Linked DNA regions of Homo sapiens: region 1 is linked to region 2. The links are contacts of gene promoters, found by promoter capture Hi-C in blood cells and fetal thymus (Javierre and others, 2016). All regions are on one chromosome and are shown on one strand. The core of a region is centred on a gene start or on the middle of the fragment in contact, and the rest is flanking DNA. Distances in the headings are between cores, read along the strand shown. Region 1 overlaps MSC-AS1 (MSC antisense RNA 1). Region 2 holds the start of UBE2W (ubiquitin conjugating enzyme E2 W).

The links. Contacts are between HindIII fragments. The CHiCAGO score rates a contact against its expected background, and 5 or more counts as called.
Region 1: a contact is called between a fragment that was not itself captured here and the fragment with the promoter of UBE2W in region 2, in 1 of 17 cell types (M2 macrophages). The highest score is 5.3, in M2 macrophages.

The regions. Positions count from the first base shown.
Region 1 is chr8:71,846,742-71,852,617 of GRCh38, reverse strand. The region is part of intron 2 of MSC-AS1 (MSC antisense RNA 1); the gene reads right to left. Among named protein-coding and RNA genes, the nearest start is that of MSC, 5.3 kb to the right of the region's middle. RefSeq lists an enhancer at 1,012-1,101. The HindIII fragment of the contact is 2,952 bases long and covers 1,087-4,038 here.
Region 2 is chr8:73,876,009-73,882,027 of GRCh38, reverse strand. It overlaps UBE2W (ubiquitin conjugating enzyme E2 W), which reads left to right and starts at 3,166. Exons shown (of 6, transcript NM_018299.6): 1 at 3,166-3,220. The coding sequence starts at 3,206. It overlaps LINC01617 (long intergenic non-protein coding RNA 1617), which reads right to left and starts at 3,046. Exons shown (of 3, transcript NR_147034.1): 1 at 1,331-3,046; 2 at 1. RefSeq lists silencers at 2,934-3,223, 3,364-3,413, 3,434-3,693 and enhancers at 3,080-3,957, 4,434-4,483. The HindIII fragment of the contact is 3,471 bases long and covers 2,167-5,637 here.

The sequences.
Region 1 (5,876 bases), core at 1,313-3,812, 2.0 Mb after region 2:
GGCAGACCAAAGTAGCTAGAATTCACCCGGCAGGGTAGCAGAGGGAAGAGAGGTGCACAGAGAAAGAACCTGGGGATCTGCAGAGGGTGCCCTTGGAGTATTCAGCCAATCATCACGAGCATGTGAGGAAACTACCAGAGGCTGAAGGAAGAACCACCAAAAAGGATGAAAGGGAACACAGCCAGCTACTCACACAGAGCCAGGAATAATATCTGTTCTAGCCAGACTGGAAAATTTCATGTTCCCAGTGCATTAGGTTGAGTGCTTATAAGAGTCTTGCCTCAGCAATGGGGGACAATTAGCTCTAGAAGGAACACTGCTCTGGTTCCTTCTACACATCTTAAAGACCCAAAGAAATCATTATTTCCAAGTAACTCAACTGCATCTGAGAACAAAGATCAATAATATTTGGTGGAATACAAAAAATTCCCAGTACCCAAAGGGCAAAATTCATGGTGTCTGGCATCCAGCCAAAAGTTACCAGGCATGCAAACAGGCAGGAATATGTGACATATCATGAAGATAAAAAATGAATCAGAACTGACCCAGTCATGGAGCCAATATCCTGGCCAGGCTGGGTTTACTCCCTTTGCTTCCTTACCCTCTCCCACATCCTAATTTCAGCAGTTATCCAAGTCAGCCTCCCTCCATTTATGAGACCACTTTGTTCCCCATCTGCAAAGAAACTCAACTCCTGGACCTGGCAGGAGTTTCATCCCTACTTAACATTCATTTTCTGGTCCACTCCTCGTCTAAAGAGATATTTTCCTTGCTTTTGGACATGGCTGAATATTTTTAGTTTTTCTCTTTTCACATTTTAGCTCTCACTGCTATGTGTTTGGAGCACAGGCGACGCTTCAAAATGTGGTCTTACCAGACCATCTCAACTGAAAGTCCCCACCCATGACTTTCTGAAATGACTCCCTTGCTTTCAGTAACACTACTCTCTTGGTTTTCCTCTTGCCTCTCTGATTACTGCCTTTTTTCTCTGAATTCCCCTTCTCTGCTTAACCATTAAATTATTAAAACCATTAACCACTTTTAAGGGCTCCACAACTTGGCCCTTTGCTCTCCTTAATCTAAGCTTTGTAAGTGTGTGATCCCCTGAAATTTTATGAAGATTCTGAATTTTTTCAATCAGGAAAAAAAATGGTAGCAAATGGTACTAAAAGCACTATTTCATTTTCATATAGAGAAAAGAATGTTACTGGGATGTTTATAATAAATATAATTGTTGAGTTATTTAGACTTCCTCTGGGCGTTGTGGCAAGCACAGTGTATAATAAATAGAAAGATATATACTCCATTTGATAAGAGGAAATATTCCTTAGAAGTCCATTCAGTTAATAAGAAATGTAAAAGAGTCCTTATAACTGCTATCAGTGGGTAGAACACATAGTAATACACTGAGTTGGTTAAATAAAGGACAAATGATGGGTTGAGTACCTGTCTCCTGTTAATTATGAGTGCAGATGGGCTTGTGTTCATGTGTTGGTGAGAGTTTTCAATCATCAAATATTTATTTTTGTTAAATGGAAAAAAAATAATTTGAGAGAGTATCTCGCCCTGTCACCAGCACGTAGTACAGTGTTACAATCATGGCTCACTGCAGTCTCGACCTCCCAGACTCAAGCAATACTCACACCTCAGTCTCCCGAGTAGCTCGGGCTACGTGTGGTGCTCCCATGCCTGGCTACGTTTAAAAAATTTTTTGTAGCAATGGGGCCTCACTATATATCCCACTCTGGTCTTGAACTCCTGGGCTTAAGCAATTCTCCTGCTTTGTCATCCCAGAGTGCTGGGATTACAGGCATGAGCTACTGGGCCTGGCCCATCAAATATTTAGGTAGTACCTTTCATGAGTTGCTAGACACTAGGGATATCCCTATGAACAAGACACAGCCTCCGCCTTCATTAAGTTTACCATTTAATCTTTTTGTTTTCCTCTTACTTATTTTAATTTTGTTGGTCCCTTTCCTAGAGGAAGTTGCTTAAAGGTGGCAATGTAAGAAGAAATAGGAACGGAGTGATGAAACAAAGCATGAGAATACCTTAAGTAGTTCTGTTTCCAATATCCTCAAGGGTTCCTCCTTTAAAACTGAAACCTGAAGAGGAATGTAGTTGGGTTATTTTTGTTTATTTGTTTGTTTCTGCTAACTGGACAGAGTAGCACAAATGAGCCAAAGGGGGAAAAAGTACTATGAGAAGTGGGCATATTTCCTAAAATACCTCCCTGTTTTGATCATCTGTTAGAGCTCACTTTAGAATTGGAGGTCAGAGGGGCTTGGGACTAGGGAAACAAAGGTCATACGTAAATAAGTTAGGCCCTTCTTTTATAGATGAGTCGGTTAAGGGACTGGTTGACAAAGAGGACAGAATCCTTGTTCTGTGACACCAGGAAGTATCTATTACATGAGAACTTCCTTCTGGCACCAGGAGGCATTTAGCTGGTGTTCTATAGGGGATGAGCCATGGCTGGGGGTTGCACTTTGAGCAAGGCCCGCTACTGGGAGAGGGAACAGGGAAAACATGAGCTCCTACAGGAGAGAGAATGGGCATAATAATGTAATAACTGACCTTCTACAATGCTCCACAGTTTCCACAGGAGCCTGCATGCTGGCAATCTCATTTAACTCTGGCAACTTTCATGGGTTATACACAGAGAAACAAGCTACAAGAGTATAAGTATGTGGCCTGAGGCCTCTCAGCTGATAAATGCAGAGATCTCCTCATGTCCACAGCAAAAGGGGCTCTTTTCAGTACATGCCACATGGCAGGATGATATTTCTCTCCCGGGTTAACTCCACAATTAAACCAAGGTAGGCTTGGGACCACACACTGGAGACCAGAGCTGTGTGCTACAATTTCAAGGGCTGTTTTGGTACCAGAGTATTTTCACATTTCCAGGTATTGCCAATAAAACCACAAGTACTTAAAAGGAGAAAATCCCCTGAGACAGAACTTTCTTAGCTTCTGCATAAGAGTGAAAGGCTGTTCCAGGGGTTTACAAAATAAGATTATTTTCAGACCTACAAGCCACACTCCTAACCCAGACTAGGACTGGGTTAGTATTCTCCAACATCCTTCAGGATTCTCCAACATCATGGAGGGCCACGGATTATGTAAACAGGCCTCCTACAGAAGACTTCACTACAGCACCTTCACTTTCTGAAAGCTGGGCTTCTATACTAGGCCAATTGAGTAATCAAAGTCATTTACAGGAAACACACAGCATTCCAGTTGGAACTTGGGGTTCCCAGGACAGTTAAGCCTCAGCACCTGCTCCCTAAAATCTAGAGATATTGTTTAAAAAAAATTTCCTGCAGAAGCTGCCTACAGTTTTTGTTGTCAAGACAATCAATGAGGGCGTTTTTCTTTTCTCCTGAAAGGCTGAGTCTTATCGCTTTCCCTCTCCCCAGCCTACCCCCAGCCCCATTTTTCATTGTTTATTTGTTAAGCCTGGCTTTTCCACCTTCAACCTCCACAAACCATCCAGGCACTGGCTTCTCCATGCTAAGGCCTCATGACTTTCGGAGGGAAGGGTAAAAAATCTTGCTGCAATCCTTAGATAAATAAACCAGCAGCAGAGGCCTGTTTGTGTTGTGGATGACAAAGGACTCCACATGTAGGCTTTGACTATTTCCATGGATGCCCAACCTGATGGCTGGTAGAGCCCGGGTGAAGGGAGTTTTCTTCCTTTCCTGGTCTGAAGAGTGGTGGCATCCTGCACAACACCAGGACAGAGGCTGCCCTGAGCCTGGAGCAGAGCCCAAGGCTTTGTGCAGACAAGGGACAGGCCTTGGGTTATCCAGACCTAACCCTGGGTCTTACACGTGACCTGTCCCCACCTGACTGGCTCCCCATGTGACTAGCATGCCACGTGGCCAACACACACTGGGACTAGCATTCCATGTGACTAACACACCACTGAGGAGGAGCGTTCATTTTCCCAGCACGTGTGTGTGTCTGGTGGGGTGTGTTATAGACAGGAGGTTGAATACACGTGGTAAGACGCAGTCTGGATAATACAGAGAAGCTTATTTCCACAAGAATGTGCCCTCCCAGTGGGTGAGAGTGGGTCTCACCAACACCTTGCCACAACCAACAGTAGATACTCAGTCCATAGGGGTATAGTTAATCCATGAGATTAATCCCTGAGTTGTCCAATAGAAATATAATGGGACCGGTATATTTAATTCTACATTTTTAGTAACCATATGATAATAATTTTAAATGGTGAAATTAATTTTTGTAATATATTTCATTTAACCTAATAGATCCAAAATGTCCTCACAGATTGACATAAATTTATATTTTAAAATATTAATGAGAGCTTTTATATTCTTTTATTCATAGTAAGTTTTCAATACTGGTTATGCATTTTACACTATAGTACCTGAATAGCCACATTTCAAGTGCTCAATAGCCTAATGTGGCTAATGGCTTCCATATTGGCCAGTGCTGATCTAGATTATTCATTTTCCTAGATCAAAAGTATAGGCAATTGGCCGAAGGTATGGCAATTCCTCCAGGCAACAGGAGGCTGTGGGTTGGTCCCACTGCTGTTTCTTAAGTACCTACTCACTACATAGTTTTGGCATGGCCTTCACAGAGGACAGAGGAAGCCTTTGCTCTTCCTGAGTCCTAAGTCCACATGACCTACCCAGTTCTAGAGTTTCTCACCCATTACTTAATATGCTGTTGGAGGAAGGAAGTGGCAACAAATGGCCTTTTTTCTATGATGTGTAATTATCATCCCATCTCATGGCTCCCTTTTTAAAAAACAAACCAAGCCTGCATTGTTAAATGTTTCAATCTGTTAGGCACTGATCTGTGTTCCACCTGGGCATGCTCCTTTGACCTACACCACACCACCAGCAGGATTTCTGGCTTAATCCTTTATGCCAGTAGGGAAAGTAAGGCTTGGAAAAGCACTGCAATTTTAGGGTGAGAGAATTTGGGGGACGAAAAGAAAATTTCTAACGACGTCCCATCCATTTTTCCCTCAGTGAAGTCCCTCATGGGACCTGTGAAAAATGTCATGTGATGAGACCATGTACTTCAGACCCTAGCAGCCTGTAGTCAAAGCAAATGAAAGACCCTGGTACTATCTGAAACCCAGAATAGGCCCTGGAGTACAAAACTTGGGTCAGGTCATTGCCCTAACTTTTACTAGCTGTGTGATATTGGGCAAGGCAATTCATAATACTAACTAGCATTTACTGATCTTCTCCCATGTACCAGGCTCTGACCTAGCCAACTGCTCATATACTTTCTCTTCCGCTCAGAGAGATAATCCATTTTATAGATTAGAAAACTAGGGCTCAAAAAATGCAAATTCCAGAAGTCATATATCCAGCAAGCACGGAAGCCAGGATGAAGAAATATTAAAGGTAATATTAAAAGAATTATTAAATATTTTGTTTTATAATGCAACTTAAGCCCTACTCACCCCATTGAATATTTTTTAAATGTCACTAAAGAATTTCAAGACCATTGATGTACACACAAACAGTCTATACCTGTTTCACATCTAAGAGTTTGTAAAGCATAAGCAAATAGGAATTGATTTCAGTGTGTTTATAAGATAAAAATAAAGGCTGTATTATTCATTTCAGTATGTCACTTGTCAAAACCATGAAAAACACTGGGCTTTCAAAAGAGAGAGTTATACTTACACTGTTCAGCTCGAGAAGCTGTTGTAATCATCCAAGGAGAAGAAAAAGTAATAGCACTTTGAAAGTGGAAGGAGGTGACCAAATGCCAGATATTACAAACATGTTAAAGCAAACTGCAGTTATATGCTTATAAAAAATGCATATAAGGTACATTTCCTAACCTTCATTACCAGTCTGCAACTTGAAAACAGAGTTACA
Region 2 (6,019 bases), core at 1,917-4,416:
GCTGTGGAAATGAAAAAGTGAACATCATTATCAAATCTAACAAAAATAATAATTCCTTAATATCCTCTAATATCTACTCTATATTTAATTTTCTCCAGGTGTCTCAAAAATATCTCTTTTACAGTTTGTTTGAATCTAGATCCAAACAATGTTAACATATGCATTTGTTCAATGTACTCTTACGTGGCCAAGCATGGCCTGTAATCCCTGTAATGCCAGCACTTTGGAAGGCCAAGGCAGGTGGATCACTTGAGGCCAGGAGTTCGAGACCAGCCTGGGCAACATGATGAAACCCCGTCTCTACTAAAAATACAAAAAATTAGCCAGGTGTGGTGGCACATGCCTGTAGTCCCAGCTACTAGGGAGGCTGAGGCAGGAGAATCACCTGAGCCCGGCAGGCTGCAGTTGCAGTGGGCCAAGATCGCGCCACCGCACTCTAGCCTGGGTGACAGACTGAGACTCCGTCTCAAAAAAAATATATATATATATATAAATATATATATAAATATATAATATATATATTTTATATTATATATAAATATATATATTTATAATATATATATAAATATATATAAAACTCATATGATGCTATTAAGAAGATCCAGTAAGGATATGGGAAACTTTAACTTCATTATTGCCGAACTATTTTCCAAAGTGATTGCACTAGTGTCACTCCTATAGAGTTTATGAGAGCTCCACTTCCTCTCTCACTTTTGGTATTGTCAGATATTTTTTTTGAGACAACAGGGTCTTGCTCTGTCACCTAGACTGGAGTGCACTGGCATTATCCTGTCAGACATTTTAACTTTTGCCTATCTGATAGTAATGATAGTAAGCCTCGCTCTGTAGAAATATGAGCCTAGTCTTCAAACATGGCATAATAGTGTTTTAGATATTAACATTACATGCTCACTGGAGATAATTATATACCCCCCATACCATCTGTAAGTCACTGTTTTGGCTCCTATGTCAGGATCTTTTTATTAAATATTAACAAAAGAATGGCCGGGCGCAGTGGCTCACACCTGTAATCCCAGCACTTTGGGAGGCTGAGGCGGGTGGATCACGAGGTCAGGACTTCGAGACCAGCCTGGCCAACATGGTGAAACCCCCATCTCTACAAAATATACAAAAAAATTACAAAAAATTAGCAGAGCGTGGCGGTGTGCGCCTGTAATCCCACCTACTCGAATCACTTGAACCTGGGAGGCAGAAGTTGCAGTGAGCCAAGATCGCGCCATTGCACTCCAGCCTGGGTGAGACTGAGACTCCGTCTCAAAGAAAAAGAAAAAAAAAAGAAGACAGGTTATTATGTGCTATTTAGTATTACCTAGAAAGGATATGACTGGCATTGACTTTTCCCTCCTGAGAAGATACTTCTAACATATATGAAACCCAAGGGACCAGATATTGGATCCACTGTGATGAGTGTCAGAATTCTTGTAACCTCTTTTTTCCTTATTAGTATCTGTCATGCCAGGTTGTTGGCTCTGATGATGTCATAATGCTTTGTTTGTAGGGTCATCCGATGCTACTGTTTCCACAGGAACAATCAGCTTTTAGGCAAAGTGAACCTTGGACGGTAAAAGCTGATCTTCTGAGGTCATAGGAATAAATATATCTCAAAGAAAATACACTGGAAACTTCTTCTTTAAGTTTTCCTCTTTCATTGGAATATGTGGGTTTCCTCACTGTTGTAATGTTGATGACACAACAAGGCTAACACCGGATATGCTTCTGGCTGATTCCGGTTTACCAAGAGCATCCAAACATCCCTCAAGGACACAGTCATTTTGCACAACAAAGGGAAACTCCGCTCATTTCTGGCATTAAGGTGGACATCTGAGAAAGGGGAGGGTATACCACCATAACTTCTCTAGTGATGAATAGTGTTTAATATTATACCATAGACTAACTGGCGTATTTTAAAGATCTTTTTCCTTTTTGAACACATTTCAGATTAGAGAAGTTCCAGAGAACGTAATCTATTTTAAGAGTGTGAAAGAGTGATATTCCACATTGCTTTTATATCTTAAAGAAATTTCTAAAAAGAAAGCCGAGTCAATAAAATGACAGATTTTAAGCCTTCATTCTGGTAACATAAAAGCCTTCTACTCATTGTGTCTGCCACCTTAATTTTTAAAGATAGAGCATGAGGTGTAAGCTTTTGGCTTCCATTTTCCTCTTATAAACCAATGACATCTTCAGTTCCAGAATAGCTTTTTAAAAACGTGACTTCTGATAAATGTTGGCAGAACTGGTGCATTCCTAAAATAAATTATGTATGCTCAGCTTTCCCTACCCAAGTTCATCCCTAAATGACCACAAAACTGCCCACCACGAACTATGCTTAAGAGAAGTCTGGACATAATGGTATAAGTGTATATAACACGACATTGGTATATTTAAAAAAAAATTCATGCCTAGGGTCAATTCTGATAATCAAATTTAGACTGCTGCAACAACCGTAACTATTGTTGATATATGCGCAGTTTAAAAGTGAAGGGCGGGGGTAAGGGGCAGAAACTGCACACAACAAACTTCCAAATTTTGTCTCCCTTTTCAGGCAAGTTTCAGCTCCACAAATCTAAATACCCTCGCCTTTAAAATATCAGTGTCGTTCTGCTCTTAAATCCTCATCCCGTTGTACAAGGAAACCTATGTCTCTCTTCCCCAAATTAAGAATACGAGAAGCCTTCCAGGTCTGCAAATACCAGAAAGCAGCTGCGCATGAAGTTTTATGGGGCCCCAAGGCTCTGAGAGTGGGCTTGGAGGTATGGAAAACACATCCCAAGGGAAAAATCTGTGAACCGCACAACTGTGGTTGGAAACGAAATAGGAAAAAAACTGCGCGGAACCGGACGTCATCAGCATTTCGCGGTACACACGAAGAAAACAACCGTAGTCGGGTCAAAACTGGAGCCGTGTCTCCTCAGTAACGAGAGTAAATGGGGGCCCGACGCGTGAGCGGCCAGCCGGACTGAGACAGAAAGTACTCAGAGCGCCATTTACCGCGCCCTCGCCCCGCCCCGTAGCCCCTCCTCCCGTCCGCCCTGCGCGCCAGCCAATCCCCTCGCTCCATCCCCTTCCCATCGCAGACCCCGCCCCCGCGCCCGGGATGTTGAGCCCCCGCGGCGTGACGCGAGCACGGCAGCTCCTCCCCCTGCGTCTCTGGCCTCGCCGGTCTTGGGGGGATGGTTCCATCATGGCGTCAATGCAGGTGAGAGGAGTTTGCTGCATCTGGGCGGGCCAGGGAGCCGCCGAGAGAGTGCCAGCGTTCGGGCGGGGGTGGCGTCCGCGATTCGGGGACACCCGGGCGGGTTCGGGATCGGTCCGGGTGGCCTGTTTTCCCTCAGCTCAGGGCGTCGGGGGAGGGGTAAGAGGCGGCGAGAGGCGTTGTGGGGGGTGCGGTATCCGTCGGTCGAAGCGGACACCAGCCGGCCGGGAAGTTGGGTGATAAAGGAGGGTTGGGGAAGAAAGGGCAAAGTCTGGCGTTGGCGGTCTCAGAATCGGCTCCCCGCACACACACACGGGCGCTGCCAGTCTGCTGCCCGCCAGCCCCAGGGTTGCCTTTACCCCCGCTGTCCCTGGCCCGACGGAAACAGCTGCGCCCGCGGTTGTTGCCGGGGCAGGGGCGGCGGGGGGCTGAGTGTGCGGGAGCCGAGAATGCGTCTCCGGAGAAGGCGGCTGGCTGCGGACGGCGCTTAGCGGCCTCTGCTCCGGCCTCCCACGCCGGGCCCCCCAGACTGCTCGGCCCCGTCCCTCTCTTCTTCCCTTTGACTCTTAATCCTGTGCCCGTGGGTATCTTCTATTTCCATCAGCCTCGGTATTCTCGCGGACATTCCTCCAGCAGTCCACTGTCTCCTTCCTCTCGAAGCTGCCCCGTGTCCACCGCCTGATGGGCGATCTCCCGAGAGCCGAGTCCTCAGCCCCCTTAAACCTCTCGGGATAGCTTGCCTTCTATTTTGTTTCCCACTGCAAGGCCCCACCCTTGCGGTCGCGATAAGGCTATACATCTCTTTGCCCTTATTCCCAGACCTTTAGTGGAACCTTAGTTTGGTAGGAGGCGTTTGTTAACCTGTGCCATATCCCCCCGACTTAGCAAGGCGTGGTTTTCTGGCTTTCCAACTTAATTTACTCCTTTTTCCCGAATCTAGGGAGTTGTGGGTTTTTTTGTTTTTTGTTTCCAGGCAAAGATGGCAACCACAATTGTAGTTGTGCAGGGATTGAGTGCGTTATCTGTAGCCTGCATTTAATTCACAGGTGAAGACTAGCGGTATCAAAGGCATTGGAAGAGAAAGTAGAACGCTCAATAGGAGTGTCAGCTGAGTACCCTTTAGCGTTTTCATAATATCCCCTTGGGTAAAGAGACCACATTTTCTTAGAAGTGTTTTTTGCTTTTGTTTCTGGAAGAAGCAAGTCTCTGTTCCTCCTCCATTTTTTTTTCTTTACTCTGCTAAAAGTGTTTTTCTTCCCTTTTCTGCATCTTCTTCCTCTTTTGTACAAATATAGCTTTGCTTCACATTTACTCCTGTGCTTTTATGTTATTCCCCTTTCAACCTGTTTTCCTTACAATATTCTCTTTACCTTGCTTCTCCCTCTGGACTTGCCTGCAGAACAGAAAAGTTTTATGTAACATTTCTAGTTGAAGAGATATCACGAATGGTGCAGGGAAAAAACAGGAACAATTTCAGGAAACATTATACTTTACACTAGTCTCCCCAGAGACGTTGGAGAAGTTTCGTCATTTGAGGCCAAAAAAGGAACAGTGGAATGCTAGTTGAACAGTAGATGCAATAGGCTACATTACCACTTAAAGATTTTTATCTGTGTTAAGATTAAAACATTTTTTATGACAAGTTTAAGATTATTATCTGTATTAAGATTAAAACATTATTTGAGGCTAAACATTAAGATTAAAATCCACAACACTTGTATTTGACAAGAGAACGTAGTGTGTCATCTCGTTAGATTTAGTATCTGGAAAAGGCAGATTTGTTTGTAAGAGAGAGGTTGGTAATCTTGAACTTGAACTTTACATGGTGTCTTTTTTCTTTTTTGAGATGGAGTTTCGCTCTTGTTGCCCAGGCTGGAGTGCAATGGGGCGATCTTGGCTCACCGCAGCCTCCACCTCCCGAGTTCAAGCGATTCTCCCACCTCAGCCTCCTGAGTAGCTGGGATTACAGGCATGAACCACCACGCCCAGCTAATTTTGTATTTCAGTAGAGACGGGGTTTCTTCATGTTGGTCAGGCTGGTCTTGAACTCCCGAACTCAGGTGATCCGCCTGCCTTGGCCTCCCAAAGTGCTGGGATTACAGGTGTGAGCCACCGTGCCTGGCCTACATGATGTCTTAAGAATTGGAAACAAATACTTGATTGACAGTGCAATAGTGCATTTTTCTGTGCCCTAAGTATTACTATCTCAGACTCTTACCACCCTTTTAAGTTTTTCCTTCACCTTGTTCCATCGAAATCTTATCACTCTCTATTCTTCTGTGTTTTCTGGTTAGAGGAATGGAAAACGGATGCTTCCTATATTTATTGAAAAGTCTTTCCCTTTTTATTTGTATTTTAAAATATCTAGTGCAGATTTGCTGGTAGTATCTTTAAGAATATTTTAATATATATGTCAAGCTTTTTGAAAGACAACCCTACTTTCTGTGTGGTTATTCTGTATCTTTGTTATACAGAATTTATATCCTGACTATCTTAATGGCAACATTTGGCTCTTTTAAGACAACTAGATTATACATAAATCTTCAATAAAATTATCAACTTTGTTTATTCACTGAGCCAGTTATCTTTTGGGGGACCTCTATGTGTCAGACACTTATCTAGTTGCTGTGGTTATAGCAATGAACAAAAGCAGACAAGATTTCTGCCCTCATGGATTTAATAATAAATAGTCTCATAAGAAGAGACAGATAAGAACAGCATATTTAAGTTAATTGTGTTTTGTTCTTGTTTTTTGTGTTGAGATGGAGTCTCGCTGTGTTGCTCAGGCTGGAGTGCAGTGAT